Regions from separate parts of the Homo sapiens genome. Here regions 2, 3, 4, 5 and 6 are each linked to region 1. The links are contacts of gene promoters, found by promoter capture Hi-C in blood cells and fetal thymus (Javierre and others, 2016). All regions are on one chromosome and are shown on one strand. Each heading gives the region's core, a stretch centred on a gene start or on the middle of the fragment in contact. The rest is flanking DNA. Distances are from core to core; before and after follow the strand shown. Region 1 holds the start of ZNRF2 (zinc and ring finger 2). Region 2 holds the start of MINDY4 (MINDY lysine 48 deubiquitinase 4). Region 3 overlaps GARS1 (glycyl-tRNA synthetase 1). Region 4 has its middle 5.4 kb from the start of GARS1. Region 5 overlaps GARS1-DT (GARS1 divergent transcript). Region 6 overlaps GARS1-DT (GARS1 divergent transcript).

Region 1 (2,526 bases), core at 13-2,512:
ATACCCTAAGAGTGATGAAAATCATTACATAAATGACTTATTGCAAATAGTGAAAAGATGACAAAGTATTTCTGTAGTTTTATAAAACACCACTTGCTATTATTATTTTCAAGTAGAGACTAGACATTTTCATAATGGGAGTCTCAGAGCAGGCTGTTCCCTGGGTATCCAGACCCTGCTCTGCCGTGAAGAGACCACACCAACACTGAGGAAGGCACTGAGGAGAATTTTATTACATTTTAGAGAAGTTATAGGATTTTAAAGAGGCAGGTGCCCTAGGATTTAACACAAACAGTTCAGGTAAGAAACCTAAAGTCGGCCTGGTGCGGTACGTCACGCCTGTAATCCCAGCACTTTGGAAGGCCGAGGCAGGTGGATCACTTGAGGACAGGAGTTCAAGACTAGCCTGGCCAACATGGTGAAAGACCGTCTCTACTAAAAATACAAAAATTAGCCAGGCGTGGTGGCACGTGCCTGTAATCCCAGCTACTCTGGAGGATGAGGCAGGAGAATCGCTCGAACTCGGGAGGCGGAGGTTGCAGTGAGCCGAGATCACACCATTGCACTCCAGCCTGGGTGACTGAGCGAGACTCCGTCTCAAAAACAAAAACAAAAATAAACCTAAAGTCCAAAAAAGTAAAATAATTTGCTCACTACAGATAATTTAGTTTGGTGTTGGGCCTAGATTCTAGGTTTTGTGAGTCAGGTGCAGCGTTCCTGGCACCACAGTATTTGCCCTACCACAGAGGGTCAACCTGGATTATCCCGAGTTCTTCCAACTCTGCGCTTCCTCCCAGGTTGGTGTTTCATGAGTAAGTCTGAGATCAAGCTGGCTTTTGAGCTTCTGTTTTTTTTTTTAATCAGTGTGTAACACCAACACCCACCGAAACCAAACGGCTCTGGGCAGAGGACACAGCCATTCACGCCCCCTGCCAGGAAAAGCTGCAGCTGACACAGGCTCCTACAGCGTCGGCGGGCCACGTGCGGGAGGAGGGGCCGCCTTCTGGTTGGCGCCCGGTGTCCGTTCCTCCTATCGGCGTAGGCCCCGCGAGGAAGACAAGGGCGCGCCCTGGCTGGGAGGGCGTGGCCAGAGACCTGTCCATCACCGAGTCCACGAGTGGCAGCACCTACCACACCGCAGTACCTTGGCGAGGCGGAGCAGGGGCAGGCAGGTCGCGGAAGGGGGAGGCGGAGCAAGGCCGGCGGGAGCCAATCGGCCTGGCGGCACGAGGGGGCGGGGGCGGGGTCAACGCGCGCGACCCAAACACACGGGCCGGGCGCACCCTGCAGCCGCGCCGCTCCGCGGCCTTCCGGCGCGGGGCCGGGGAACCTCCTCCCCATCTGCGCACCCCCCGCCTTCGCGGCCCAGATCCTCCCGCCAGCCCGGCCCCTCCTTCGCAGGGGGAGCGAGGCGACGGTTGCCGGGAAGCGCGCGCCACCTCTCCCTCCCATTTTTCGTTCTCCCCTCGCGCGCCACCCGTTTTTCCTCTTTCTCCGTTAATAACAGCTGGGTGGCTGGGGGAGGAGGGAAGGTGGCCCCGGCGGAGTCTGGGCGGGCGCCTCCCACTCAGCCGCCAGCCGCCGTGGGAGCCGGAGGATGGCGGCGGTAGCAGCGGCCGCCCGAGAGGAGGCGGTGCCGAGATCGGGGGCGCCGAGCGCGGCAGCAGAGAGCGGTAGCGGCCCGTCGTGGCGCACCAGAACCGAAACCAGCGGCAGCCGCACGGCCACTTGAGCCGCCCCTTCCTGCTGGAGCCAGCGAGGGGTGCCTGCAGCCGGGACCCCTTCCTCTCCGCGTCTCCTCGTCTCCCGCGCCCGCGTCAGGCCGTCGGCCTCGCCCGCCGCCCCAAGAAGAGCGCGCCGGGCGCCGACTGCCCCTCTGGACGCCGGGCGGCGGCCCTGGACGTGCGGGGGCCTCTCTGGGCCGGCCGCGGCGCCTGGGCCCTGCCCTCTAGCTCCCGCGCTCGCTCCCGCCCTCCCGGCTCTCGGGGCGCAGCGCGCGGGCCCGGCCCGGGGCAGGGCGGACATGGGCGCCAAACAGAGCGGCCCGGCCGCCGCTAACGGCCGCACGCGCGCGTACTCGGGCTCGGATCTACCTTCCAGTAGCAGCGGAGGCGCCAATGGGACCGCGGGCGGCGGCGGGGGCGCTCGGGCCGCCGCCGCGGGGAGGTTCCCGGCTCAGGTGCCCAGCGCGCACCAGCCCAGCGCCTCCGGCGGCGCCGCGGCGGCCGCGGCGGCCCCGGCAGCCCCGGCGGCCCCGCGCAGCCGCTCCCTCGGCGGGGCCGTGGGGAGCGTGGCGTCGGGGGCCCGCGCGGCGCAGTCCCCCTTCAGCATCCCGAACAGCAGCAGCGGCCCGTACGGCTCGCAGGACTCGGTGCACAGCAGCCCTGAGGACGGCGGCGGCGGCCGGGACCGGCCGGTGGGCGGGAGCCCCGGCGGGCCGCGCCTGGTGATCGGCTCCTTACCAGCTCACCTCTCGCCGCACATGTTTGGAGGTACGGACCCCTCTCCGCGCACCCGCGCTCGGTC
Region 2 (2,526 bases), core at 10-2,509, 490 kb after region 1:
AATCCCAGCTACTCAGGAGGCTGAGGGAGGAGAATGGTTTGAATCCGGGAGGTGGTTGTTCACTTGGCAGTGAGCCGAGATTGCGCCACTGCATTCCAGCCCGGGCACCTGAGCGGGACTCTGTCTCAAAAAAAAAAAAAAAAAAAGAAAAAAAAATTCCCGTGTTGAAGTCCTAATGCCTGGTATTCCAGAATGTGACTGTGTTGGATAGGGTCTTTAAAGAGGTGATGAAGTGGAAATGCAGTCATTAGGGTGGACCCTATTCCAATACAACTGATGTCTTTATAAGAAGAGATTAGGACACAGGCACACACGGACGGCTAGCCACGTGAAGACACTGGGAGAAGGTGGCCATCTATAATAGAGGCCAGGGAGAGAGGCCTCAGGAGAAACCATCCAGCTGACACCTCGATCTTGGTCTGTAGCCCTCAGAACTGGGAGACAATAAATGTGTTGTTTAAGCCACATGGTCTGTGGTACTTTGTATGGCAGCCCAAGCAAAGGAATACAATAGGTAACATGCGGAAGTGGCAAAGATTGTGAAGGTGGAACCCAGGTGACTAAGTTCGGGGAAAATGTACTGGGCTTGGTTAGAAACCCAACTTTCCCAGTACCCAGCTGTGTGGGCCTCAGCAAAATCTTAGCCTTTCTGAATCTCAGTGTCCCGTTTTAAAGAATGGGGCCAACAGTAACTACCTAGCCAGGAAGTTGTAAGGATTAAAAGTGCAACCGTGAGTTAAGAGCTTGGTGATCAATAAATGGCAGTCTCATTACGGGAAAGCAGGCACCAAGGGGGCGAGGAACATCTCCTTTAATTTCGGTGCCCAAGAAGCAGAATGCTGGGCTTCCTTGCCCCCACCGTCAAGGCCCGCCAAGGTCAGTAGCGTTGGTGGCCCCAGAGGGGGCCGTGGTGCTGAGGGTGGACCTGAGGGGGTCACTTCCCTGTGAGTTTAGTCCTCCAGAAACAAGGAGGCAGGTATTCTTCCCATTTTATGTCTAGGAAAATGGAGCCTCGGAGCGGAGCGGTAATTTGTCCTAGGCCTCTCAGATGACCAGGGCCAGGGTCAGAGTGAGGCCCCGAGTCCGGAGCCGTGGACGGGGCCCTAGGCGACACCAGGGCGCCCTGACTGCGGCCTCCCACTCCGAGACGCGAGTTTGCGGGACGCTCCACCCCTTCCCTCCCGCCCCAGCCCGCCAGCCCCAGGGAAGGGGAGGAGTTCTTGCCGCGCCGACGCCGCCGTCGCCACGGCAACGCGGCCATACTGCGCCGGACAGACCCAGTTGCCTGGTGCTGCGGCCCGGCGTGGGCCTCGTGGGCAGAGCCAGAGCCAGAGCCATGGACAGCCTCTTCGTGGAGGAGGTGGCCGCCTCCTTGGTCAGGGAGTTCCTCAGCAGAAAGGTAACGGCTCGCCCCCTCCAAAGCCCAGGAAGTGGCTCTAATTTGGGGGGATCATCGGGGTCTCCCCTGAAGGCTTTGCAGCTTCTGGGAGGGCGCCCGTTCCCTACCTACTGCCTGCTCCAGAGATGCCCCAGAAGAGCGCCGCTTTCCCGGGACAGGGGAAACTACATTTCCCACGAGGCGTTTCTGCCGTCGTCACCGGGCGCTTCCGCAAGGCACGGTTTGGACCCCGTCCGCTGCCCTCCTGGGGCATCCGCGCTCCGGGGCGGCGGCAGCTGGGGAGGGGGCCTGGGGGCCGCGCCAAGCAATCCTAGCGCGGGCGCACAGCGGGCAGGCCTGCGCCCTAGCCTGGCTGCCGGCCTCCGTGCGCTACCCACGCAAGTCAGGGTCCCACTCGGAAAGAACTTCTCCCAGAGGGAACCCCAAAAGCCCAGAAAAGTTCTTGACGGTCAAACCCTTAGTCATTTTAGTCAACAGTGGGAATTCCAGTGGTTGCTTTAATTTTTGTAAGTTTTCCTATTGTCTTGTCCCAGGAGAGTTTTTGCAGTGTTCACAAGCTTGGAAGGTCCTTAGCTGTCATCTGGCCTCAGGGTGGAGATGGGGACCTCGGTGGGGAAGGAGCTCGCCGGGGGGTCTTGGGCGTGGTAGTGGAGGGGGACATACATTAGCTCATTCAGCACATGGTGACTGAGGGCTGCACTCTGTGTGTTTTGTCTGTCCTTGCAGTGTCATACTGGGCTAGGGCGATGGGTACTTGTCTTGTATGAAAACACATACACGTAATTTTTTGAATGGAGGAAAGGGGAAGGACTTTGAAGTCAGACGGAGACAATTCAAATATTTGCTACTAGTTTGCAGTGTGAACCTCAGTACTTTACTCACTGTCTCAATTTCGTTATCTGTAAAACAGGAAAGTAAGACCTACTCTTTGCAGATTTATAATGAGGATTAATATTAACATATGGGCAGCTTCCAAGCATTGGATCTGACATATAGATACAATGTGCACGTAGGTGTTCAACTTTATACCTCCTCCCACCCTCACTGTTTCTGACACCAAACAGGTGTCTCTGAAGTGCACCTGTTTGGAAAGTGTCTTTGTGTGTTTTTTATGATTTATTTTTATT
Region 3 (2,526 bases), core at 16-2,515, 330 kb after region 1:
GAGGTATTTTGCTTTATCTTTCACTTTGAAACAGTGACTATATGAGTTTTAGGTCCCAGAAGGATATTTTTTTCTCTCTTGATAAATGGAAAGTGAATAAATTGGTTATGGTTTTAATGTGGGTGTCCTGAAGGTTAGGTTAATTGTGATGTTCCTGAATTTTGTGTGATTGTAGCAGTGGATGGCTAGGGTTATATATAATACTTTATATCTTATGCCTTGTTTTCTCTGTCTTTTACACTAATTTCTTTATATGTCTTTTAGCTTGATAACTATGGACAGCAAGAACTTGCGGATCTTTTTGTGAACTATAATGTAAAATCTCCCATTACTGGAAATGATCTATCCCCTCCAGTGTCTTTTAACTTAATGTTCAAGACTTTCATTGGGCCTGGAGGAAACATGCCTGGGTATGTATCACTTATTGTTTACCTGTTTATGTAATGAAGTTTTTAAAATTGCTTATATTAAAAGGTAAATATCAATGTTATGAAGGAAAAATTTTTAAAAAGTGATATACAGAAGTACAGATGAATGTATTATGGAGAAATAATGGCAGAAATAAATCTTTTAAAAAATTCTTTCTGAATATAATTTCTTTTTTGGCATATATGTATTTTTTTGGCATAAAATAAAGTCTCTGATCACTATATCTTCTAGTTATAGCTGCATAGGGTAGAAGGGACAGTTGAAGAATGGTTTTAAAAGCCGTTGAACTTATTGCTGAAGGATATTTTAGAAACCATTTAGTTTAGCATGCTACTGTCCAACGGAACTTTCTGCAGTGATGGAAATGTTCTGTAATGTGTGTTGTCCAGTATGATTAGCTACCAGCCACATTTGGCTCTTGAGCACTCATAATGGGTCCAGTTCTTCTGAGGCACTGAATTTTAAAATTTATTTCATCTTAATTGAAATTTAAATAGACATCTGCCTGGTGTCCTACCATATTGGACAGCATAGGTATAGCCTGTTGATTTGAAAGATGTGGTTTTCATGGATAAAGAATATCTGGTTAGTTTACAGTATGATTCAGAATTGGAATCTTTATCTTCTGATTCCTTGTCCACTGTTTAACAGACTTAGCCAGTGTTCCATTTCATAGCTTTAGATATTTTTCTATGATAGGGTAAGAGAGTAAGTTTTTCCTACATGAGCTAGATAGATCGTGTTTCCCAGAGTAGGGACTGAAGAATAAGAAAAATTAATTGTGACAAAATGTGTTGCAGTTAATTATTCTAATGAGACATCAGGTTGATTTGGAATATTTCATGGAAAGAGGCCAGTGGCAAGCCTTTCATTTTGGCCATATGTACAGAGTCATAAAATGAGACATAACCTGTGACCCAGACATTCCATTTCTGGGAATTGATCTAAGGAAATAATTCAGAAGGAAAGGAAATTATACTTAGAAGAAGTATATAAATTGAAAGTAGAAATAACCTATTCAGTAATTTGAGAGTGGTTAAACAAATTATGGTAAAGTGGATTAGTTTGGGATAATATTCTGTCACTATTAAATGTGAGAAATTTGTGCCATTATTTAGAAAATGGGAAGTATAAAATAGGTAATACATGATTTTATACATACTAACTGTAAATATATGTATAAACTTTACTTACATTTGGATGAAATCTGGAAAGGGCCATAAAAATCAAAAGAGTTGGTCTGTTAAGTAAGAAGAGGGTACAATTTTAGGGTTTTTAGCCCTTGGTTTTAAAGTTATTTTAGTAAAATACTTATTCTGAAGTAGGCCATTGGGAGCGTTTCCTTAGTGGATGTTTTGCACAGAATATCTTCTAGGAAATTGAGAGGGCAGTGGTTATAGTAGTGTATTTGCTTGACTATATCTTTAAAATACAGAGAAATGCGGAAGCCTCTGGTTGAAAATATAAAATACTGCAGATAATAAAATGATTTGAAAAACATTGAAAATTACCTGGCTTGGTGAGGTGATAGTGATAAGTGAGTGCTGATGTTAAATGTGAGCCTATACTGATTTCTTTTTAGCCCCTCAGTTAAGTTTTAATATGTGGGTTAACAGGGCTAAACATAGGCATGGGTATTATTTTCCAAAGGACCTAAGATTGTCATCTGCCTCCATGTACATGATGACTTAGAAGACATCAGGGGTTTAAGGGGCACTATGGGAGAGGTGGTGTTTTTTGTTTGTTTGTTTTGAGATGGAGTTTCGCTCTTGTTGCCCAGGCTGGAGTGCAATGGCGTGATCTCGGCTCACTGCAACCTCTGCCTCCCAGGTTCAAGCGATTCTCTTGCCTCAGCCTCCTGAGTAGCTGGGATTACAGGCATGTGCCACCACGCCTGGCTAATTTTGTGTTTTTAGTAGAGACAGGGTTTCTCCATGTTGGTCAGGCTGATCTCGAACTCCCAACCTCAGGTGATCCGCCCACTTCAGCCTCCCAAAGTGCTGGGATTACAGGTGTGAGCGACTGCGCGCGGCCTGAGGTGGTGTTTTTAAATTTATTTTTATTTCTGCTTTTTGAGAAGTGGGGTTTTGACTCACT
Region 4 (2,526 bases), core at 13-2,512, 300 kb after region 1:
TAAAACTAGCAGCTTAAAAAACAACAAATATTTATTGTCTCAATGTTTTTGAAAGTCAAAAATATGGAAGAAGTTTAGCTGGCAAGTTCTGGATCAGGGTCTTTCATAAGGTTAGATTTGAGATGTCATCTGGGGCTGCAGTCATCTGAAGGCTGGACTGGGGCTGAAAAATCTACCTCCTGCATAGCTCAACCCCATGGCTGTTGGCAGGAGGCCACAGGTCCTCACTGACTATTGGCACTAATCATAAAAAAGTTGGAGTGGCTATATTAATGTTAGGCTAAATATATTATAAGATAAAAAGTATATTTTGAGATGAAGAAGAATATTTCATAATAAAAAAAATGCCATTTGCCAGTAAGATATAACAATTATAAATGTGTACATGCCTCATAACAAATTCAAAATACATAAAGCAAACGTGAAAGAACTAAAGGGAGAAATAGACAAATCCACAGTCGTGGTTAGATACTTTAACTTCTTCTCTTAGTTACTGATAGAACTAGATAAAAAATTAGTAATGATCATGAAAGTTGTCAGAATCTAAGTGGAATTACTTATGTCAAACTCTAACAAAAATAAATAAATAAGGCTGGGAGGCTGAGAAGCAGGGCGGTGTGTGGGGGGGTGTTGCACACATATCTATGATAAGAACACGATTACAAAGACTCTCTGAAGAGCTCTTACCCACCCATGCCTGTAAGAAGAACTTTTGTCAAAGACTTCCCAAACTGCTACATGAATCACAATGATAGCTAGCCAGATGTACAACAACACCTGCCTGACACACTGTCTTCACTAATGAACTGGCTTCAACTCCTGTGATAAGCCCCTGTAACCAATATTCTCTGTTTCAAGGCAAATTATGTGTCCTTCTCCCTGTTGCCTTTAAAAGCTTCCCCTTGCCTCAGCCTCTTCAGTTATGCCTATGGTCCCAAGAGCCCTATATCCTGGATTTGCAAGTCCCCTGCACATCTCAAATAAACTCAATATCTCTGGAGAATCTCCCTCTGTCTGTTATTTGGGTTGAAGTAATACAGAAGATCTGAACAACACTATCAACCACCTTGGTCTAATTGACATGTATAAAACACTACATACGATAACTGGATAATACACAATTTTTAAGTACACATGGAGTGTTCGCCAAGATATACCATATGTTGAGTCATAAACAAGTCAATAAATTTCAAAAGGCTTTCTCAGATCACACAGGAATTAAACTAGAAAGCAACAATTAAAATAATAGGATATGTTAAAAAGCCCTAAATATTTGGAAATTAAATAACACTTTTCTCGACAAGGAGTAAGTCAAAGAAGAAATCATAAAGAAAATTAGAAAGTACTTTGAACTAAATGAAAATGAAAACAATGTATCAAAAATTTGTGGATTTAACTAAAGCAGTAAGTAGAAGGAAATCTATAATTTCAAATGTTTGTCTTAGAAGAAAGGCTTATAAATTTTCATATTGAGAAGCTAAAAAAGAAGAGCAAATTAAACCCAGAGTAAGTAAAAAGGAAAACATTATAAAGATAAAAGTGGAAATCAATGGAATAGAAAATAGACAAAATAATAGAGAACATTAACAAACCCAAAACTTTTATGTTTAACAAAATTGATAAAATTGGTAAGCTTTTAGCAAGACTAATCAAGAAAAGAGAGGGAGAGAAAAAAACTAATTACTGGTATCAGGAATGAAAGAGGAGATTTCATTCCAGATCTTATACATATATTCAAATAATACTACTGGAATATTATGAACAACTTTAAAACAATAAATCTGATAACTTATATGAAATGGCCAGATTCCCTGAAAAACAAAACTTACCAAAAGTGGCAAAAGATGAAATAGAAAGCATGGATGGCTCTGCAACTGCAAAAAAACTTTTCCACAAAGAAAACTCCAGAATTCACTGGTGAATTCTATCAAATGGTTATGGAAGAAATGATAACAATCTTACAAATATTGAAATTTCAGAAAATAGAGAAGAAAGAAACTCTGATTTTATAAAGCCAGGCCAAAACCTGGCAAAGATACAAGAAAAGAAAACAATACACTGATTGCCTGTATGTTCATTTTTCATGAACATACAGGCAAAAATCTTTATCAAGATGTTAGTAAATAAAATCCAGCAGAATATAAGAAAGACAAAACCAAGTTGAATTTGTTAGCATTACACTAAATGGAGAAACATTGAACACTTTTCCCTCTAATATCAGGAACAAGGCAAGATGTTCATTCACTGCTTCTATTCAATATTGTGCAAGATGACCTAGACTACGCAACCACACAAGTAAAAGAAAAAGGCATAAATATTGGAAAGAAAGAAGTAAAACTGATTCTATTTACAAAGTATATGCATATTAATACAGAAAATCCTAAGGAATCGGCCGGGCGCGGTGGCTCACGCCTGTAATCCCAGCACTTTGGGAGGCCGAGGCGGGTGGATCATGAGGTCAGGAGATCGAGACCATCCTGGCTAACAAGGTGAAACCCCGTCTCTACTAAAAATACAAAAAATTAG
Region 5 (2,526 bases), core at 11-2,510, 290 kb after region 1:
GTTTTGTCTTGGCTAGAGTTAAGACTAACAGCCAGCTGGTCTTAATTTCTCCTTACTATTAGAGCACTCAGTGACCACATAAATTGTGTGATTGTTTGTTTGTTTCACTTAACTGTTTTTGTTGTTGTTGTTGTTGCTGTTTGTTTCTGTTTCTTGTTGTTTTCATCTTTTTCCCATTGGGTTTGACCAACTCTATCCAACTTGATCAAATCCGAAGGAAAATTCCAAATTATGGAGAACAAGACCTCTGAATTGGCTAAATTCCTGCAACTGAAAAAGAAAAAAGAAAAAAACAGCTAGCAAAAGGAAAAAAAAATTTTTTTTGATTTTGACTACCTTAGGGGCTTTATTTACATAACAAGGCCATCTTTTGCTAACCAGGCCAAACTGAAAGAGCAATGGTTGTCCCCCAGCACTGCAGTTTGGAAACTAAGATTCTGTCCTTATTTTCATCATGACTGCCTAAGTTTGGTTCCTAAATCAAGCCCTTTCTGGTTTGGTATTTGCATTACTTTTGAAATATCAGCAGTTTGTACTAGCTAAAATACAGTAATGAGATTTGAAGGTATTTTTTTTAAGGAGCTTAGTGGCTAAAAGCTTAAATAAAAGCTAACATCCAAGGTGTGTGTGTGTGTGTGTGTGTGTGTGTGTAGTTAAGGCCTTTTTTATTTCTCTCCTTCAACTTTTTGAGCAAAAGTTTTTTTCTTCTCCGTCAACCAAATTCTGTTTTCTTCATTTTACTTCTGCTGCCTCTTCTTTCTCTTGCTACCCTGTGCTGCATGAGGAATCTAAAATAGTTTCTAACACCCTGGGATTCCTTAAAGAAAACAGAGAAGGCACTAGACTCCCTTTTGGGGAGCAACCTCTGTTTCTCCTTATGGAACTCAAAGAGTGTAAAAGAGAAAATTTCGTCTCAGATCTTACACTGCTTCCTTTTGTATAGTGTTACCTGGTTTCTTTCTTTCTTCTTTTTTTTTTTTTTTTAACTAAAATAATTATTTTAGTCAAAGAGTAACAACAGAGGTTACTGTTGGGTGTTTAAAGTTAGGAAGAGAGTAGTTCAGACACTTAGAGAAACATTTTTGTTAAAAAAAAAAAAAAAAGGAGAGTGCACTCATAAAACCATCACATGGTCTTAGCCTCATAATAATTCTCTTTTTGGAGACCCGGAATTCAGTGTGGGCTCTGCCCAGAGCTCAGAGATCCAGTTAAAAGGCAGACTAAATTTAGAACTACTTATATAAATAAAGTCAGTCTTCTAATATAATCCTATGATAGATTTCTATAATTTTATGTTTGATTTGGCATTCGTTTTTAATCTCCTCCTACTAGTGAGAGGTGAAACCAGCTGGACTTCCTGGGTCGAGTGGGGACTTGGGGAACTTTTCTGTCTAGCTAGAGGATTATAAACACACCAATCAGTGCTCTGTGTCTAGCTAAAGGATTGTAAATATACCAATCAGCACTCTGTAAAAACGCACCAATCAGCGCTCTGTGTCTAGCTAAAGGATTGTAAATGCACCAAGCAGCACTCTATAACAATGCACCAATCAGTGCTCTGTGTCTAGCTAAAGGATTGTAAATGCACCAAGCAGCACTCTATAACAATGCACCAATCAGTGCTCTGTGTCTAGCTAAAGGATTGTAAATGCACCAATCAGCACTCTGTGGCTAAAGGATTGTAAATGCACCAATCAGCACTCTGTAAAAATGCACCAATCAGCACTCTGTGTCTAGCTAAAGGATTGTAAATGCGCCAATCAGCACTCTGTAAAATGCACCAATCAGCACTCTGTGAAATGGACCAATCAGTGCTCTGTAAAATGGACCAATCACCAGGACGTGGGTGGGGACGAATAAGGGAATAAAAGCTGGTCACCACAGCCAGCAGCATCAACCCGCTCAGGTCCCTTTCCATGCTGTGGAAGCTTTGTTCTTTCGCTCTTCATAATAAATCTTGCTGCTGCTCACTCTTTGGGTCCACACTACCTTTAATTGCTGTAACACTCACCATGAGGGTCTGCAGCTTCATTCCTGAAGTGAGACCACAAACCCACCAGAAGGAACAAACAACCCTGGACACGCCACCTTTAAGAGCTGTAACACTCACTGCAAGGTCCGAGGCTTCTTTCTTGAAGTCAGAGAGACCAAGAACCCACCAGAAGGAATAAATTCTGGAAACACTAGCACCAGACTCTTTCTCTCTGTACCTTGAGATGTAAATTTCACTATCTGATTTTTTTCATCTAAGAGTTCCTTTAATATGCAAATTTAGGGTTATCTTAGCTGACAACTGCCTAGGGTAATAAGATCAAGAAATTAGAAGTCTAGAACTGGAGGAAAAAAAGAGGTCTTGTGAAATGATAAGCTCTACTTCTATCTGCATGTATAATACATCTATGTATTTATGTGTCATGTATATGATGTTTCACTACTAGAAACATGTAAAAGTGCTCTAATTAATTGGCTTAAAGAAAAAAAGGGGCTTTAAATCAAATACTGTATCAGAGAAAATAGAGATTTTAA
Region 6 (2,526 bases), core at 19-2,518, 270 kb after region 1:
GAGGCAGGTGGATCACGAGGTCAAGAGATCAAGACCATCCTGGCCAACATGGTGAAACCCCGTCTCTACTAAAAATACAAAAAATTAGCTGGGCATGGTGGCGGGCACCTGTAGTCCCAGCTACTTGGGAGGCTGAGGCAGGAGAATCACTGGAACCCGGGAGGCGGAGGTTGCAGTGCACCAAGATTGCGCCACTGCACTCCTGCCTGGCGACAGAGTGAGACTCCGTCTCAAAAAAAAAAAAAAAAAAAAATTCCACTTGTTCAAAGATGAGTCATCAAAAAGGAAGACATGCAGGATCTCTGCAAATGTAGGAAAGGGATAGGAAAAACCAATGGCAGATGTGGAATACTCACCAGGAAGAGGCTGCCATGGAGCAGACACCGGTCATAACCAAGCAATTACCAGGCACTTAAAAACTTAATGAAATGGTCGCCTTTAAGAAGGAAAAGGATAAAGTGAGCTCAGGGAAATGATGTTAAGATATCAGAAGGTGGAACATGAGCTCAGAAGAAAAGTGGAAAAAGAAAAGAAAGGCAACTAGGACTAGTCAGGGTTCTCCAAAAAAACAGAACTAATACGATATCTATCTATCTGTTATTTTGTGTGTGCATATAAAATATATATAATATTATATGTGTGTGCGTGTGTGTGTGTATATATATATATATATGTATGTATATTCTAGAGGAAGAGAGAGAGTGAGATTTATTTTAAGGAATGGGCTGCCATGATTATGGAGGCTGGCAAGTCCAAAATCTGCAGGGTGGGGGCTGGCAGGCTGGAGACCCAGGAGAGCCACTGTTTCAGTTCAAGTGCAAAGTTCATGTGCTGGCAGAATTCCTTCTTGCCTGGAAGAGGTCAGTCTTTTGTTCTATTTAGGCCTCCAATTGATTGGTTGAGGACCATCCACATTAGGTAGAGTCATCTGCTTTACTCAAAGTCCAATGATTTAAATGTTAATCTCATCCAAAAACACCCTCACAGAAACATCCAGAGTAATGTTTGACCAAATATCTTAGTCTCATGACCCAGCCAAGTTGACACGTAAAATTTAACCATCTTACCTAACCAAACCAATGCAATGATGATTCAAATCAAATTTAACAACAAATTCCAAACTAGAGTGACCTGCTCCCCTTTGGATTGTCTCTTTGAAAGGGAGAGGCCATGAATGTCCTTCCATCAGGGATGAGGGTCTTTGCTCCCTACATTGCCTCCTGTAGTCACTGGCAATGATATCAGTGAATCTAAACTCCCATGAGTGGGTCATAATGAATACTAGACTGATATTAGATTTTATCCTAGCTATCTGAAATAGGAATGACTGGTCTCCCTTGCCCCCAGAACTTTTAGACAGTTGGTTGAGCCCGGGACCCTGGGGACATGGGTGAGATCAATATGGCAGACTTGCTGCACTGTATTGCTTGAAGTCCTGTCAATAGCAGCCTTAATTTTAAATGTGATAGGAATCAAATTAAACAGATTTGGTCCCTCTGTTGGTCAGACTAATCAGAGCAGCTGATGAGGTAGCATACTCATGGGAAAATGTGAATTTGGCCAAGGATCTGTCAGGCCTTGTGGTGGATTTTTGTGACAGGCAATTTGCCACAGGCTCTGATTGTCTCTGCATGCTCTTGCTGGGGATGACAAGAATGCAAGGTCCTGACTGTTCCTTGCTTGGGATATTTCTCAGGGTTGTGTTTGCAGTAGACAGCCTTGACAAAGCAATATCCCCCTGCCCCAGACAAAGGGCAGACTTGCTCACCACTTACTATTAAATTGTATGTTCCCAAGCTCAGTGTTCCTTAGCTGCAGTACAAACACACTGCGTGTACAGTAACCACCTGGGCCCCTCCACATCACCCCTGTGGGACTTGGGGACAAGGAAAACCAATGCTAACTAACACAAACCTCGTGCAACTTGTTCTGCCATGAGTAGTGTAGTCCTTTGTCTCTGATCCAGTCTCATGTCATCTGCCAGCATCCATGAAACCATAACAGGCTTACTAGCTTGTAAGATGGGCAAAATTCCCGACTTTCACAGATTCCAACACACATGACCCAAGTAGGGCCAATCAGGGATTCTTCCCAAAGATACTTCCTCAAGAGCACTTCCCCAGAGTTCTTTCCCACTGATAGATGGGTGATGGGAAAATGCCATCCATTTTATCTCTCTCTCCTTCTTCCCTTTATCAGTTTATATACAAGTTGTTGGAGGTTAGCTTTACAATTTGGTCTTTTGGTAACAGAATATTTAGAGGGACTGTGATCAAATTCGAGTAATGAATATAGCCAGAGATAGATAAAATTGTTGTTGGCACGAGTATCTTCTCATTTGGGAGAAAGGGTAGGAATATTTTCCCTGGTAAGAAGGATAGCTGTATTTTGTTCGTTGTCATATAGAAGTTCAGGTATGTGTAGGAGGGTGCATATGGAAACTGAGTAGCCAAAGGGGTGGGCTGTGACAGTTATCACTTTAGAGCCTCTGAATTCCAAATCCACTCTTCGTTATCCTCCTTTGTG

The links. Contacts are between HindIII fragments. The CHiCAGO score rates a contact against its expected background, and 5 or more counts as called.
Region 2: a contact is called between the fragment with the promoter of MINDY4 here and the fragment with the promoter of ZNRF2 in region 1, in 2 of 17 cell types (naive CD8 T cells and activated CD4 T cells). The highest score is 5.4, in naive CD8 T cells.
Region 3: a fragment that was not itself captured here is called in contact with the fragment with the promoter of ZNRF2 in region 1 in 1 of 17 cell types (activated CD4 T cells); the score reaches 5.1 in activated CD4 T cells.
Region 4: a fragment that was not itself captured here is called in contact with the fragment with the promoter of ZNRF2 in region 1 in 5 of 17 cell types (naive CD4 T cells, total CD4 T cells, naive CD8 T cells and 2 more); the score reaches 7.7 in naive CD4 T cells.
Region 5: a fragment that was not itself captured here is called in contact with the fragment with the promoter of ZNRF2 in region 1 in 4 of 17 cell types (naive CD4 T cells, total B cells, fetal thymus and 1 more); the score reaches 7.1 in naive CD4 T cells.
Region 6: a fragment that was not itself captured here is called in contact with the fragment with the promoter of ZNRF2 in region 1 in 7 of 17 cell types (total B cells, total CD4 T cells, fetal thymus and 4 more); the score reaches 7.0 in total B cells.

Annotation. Positions count from the first base shown.
Region 1 is chr7:30,283,335-30,285,860 of GRCh38, forward strand. It overlaps ZNRF2 (zinc and ring finger 2), which reads left to right and starts at 1,263. Exons shown (of 5, transcript NM_147128.4): 1 at 1,263-2,492. The coding sequence starts at 2,024. LOC124901607 (a long non-coding RNA gene) reads left to right here. Exons shown (of 3, transcript XR_007060274.1): 3 at 865-920. All of the region lies in intron 1 of LOC105375218 (a long non-coding RNA gene), which reads right to left. RefSeq lists silencers at 1,109-1,538, 1,549-1,598, 1,679-2,068, 2,149-2,228, 2,379-2,508. The HindIII fragment of the contact is 18,269 bases long and covers 1-2,526 here.
Region 2 is chr7:30,770,158-30,772,683 of GRCh38, forward strand. It overlaps MINDY4 (MINDY lysine 48 deubiquitinase 4), which reads left to right and starts at 1,260. Exons shown (of 18, transcript NM_032222.3): 1 at 1,260-1,399. The coding sequence starts at 1,337. All of the region lies in intron 3 of INMT-MINDY4 (INMT-MINDY4 readthrough (NMD candidate)), which reads left to right. RefSeq lists silencers at 1,141-1,190, 1,251-1,300, 1,671-1,820 and an enhancer at 1,376-1,670. The HindIII fragment of the contact is 5,437 bases long and covers 1-1,954 here.
Region 3 is chr7:30,609,321-30,611,846 of GRCh38, forward strand. It overlaps GARS1 (glycyl-tRNA synthetase 1), which reads left to right. Exons shown (of 17, transcript NM_002047.4): 7 at 265-410. Among named protein-coding and RNA genes, the nearest start is that of GARS1, 16 kb to the left of the region's middle. The HindIII fragment of the contact is 3,439 bases long and covers 1-2,526 here.
Region 4 is chr7:30,588,187-30,590,712 of GRCh38, forward strand. No RefSeq gene overlaps it. Among named protein-coding and RNA genes, the nearest start is that of GARS1, 5.4 kb to the right of the region's middle. The HindIII fragment of the contact is 738 bases long and covers 894-1,631 here.
Region 5 is chr7:30,568,720-30,571,245 of GRCh38, forward strand. It overlaps GARS1-DT (GARS1 divergent transcript), which reads right to left. Exons shown (of 7, transcript NR_038889.1): 3 at 114-270. Among named protein-coding and RNA genes, the nearest start is that of GARS1-DT, 7.8 kb to the right of the region's middle. The HindIII fragment of the contact is 1,331 bases long and covers 596-1,926 here.
Region 6 is chr7:30,551,744-30,554,269 of GRCh38, forward strand. GARS1-DT (GARS1 divergent transcript) reads right to left here. Exons shown (of 7, transcript NR_038889.1): 6 at 357-436. Among named protein-coding and RNA genes, the nearest start is that of GARS1-DT, 25 kb to the right of the region's middle. The HindIII fragment of the contact is 7,366 bases long and covers 1-2,526 here.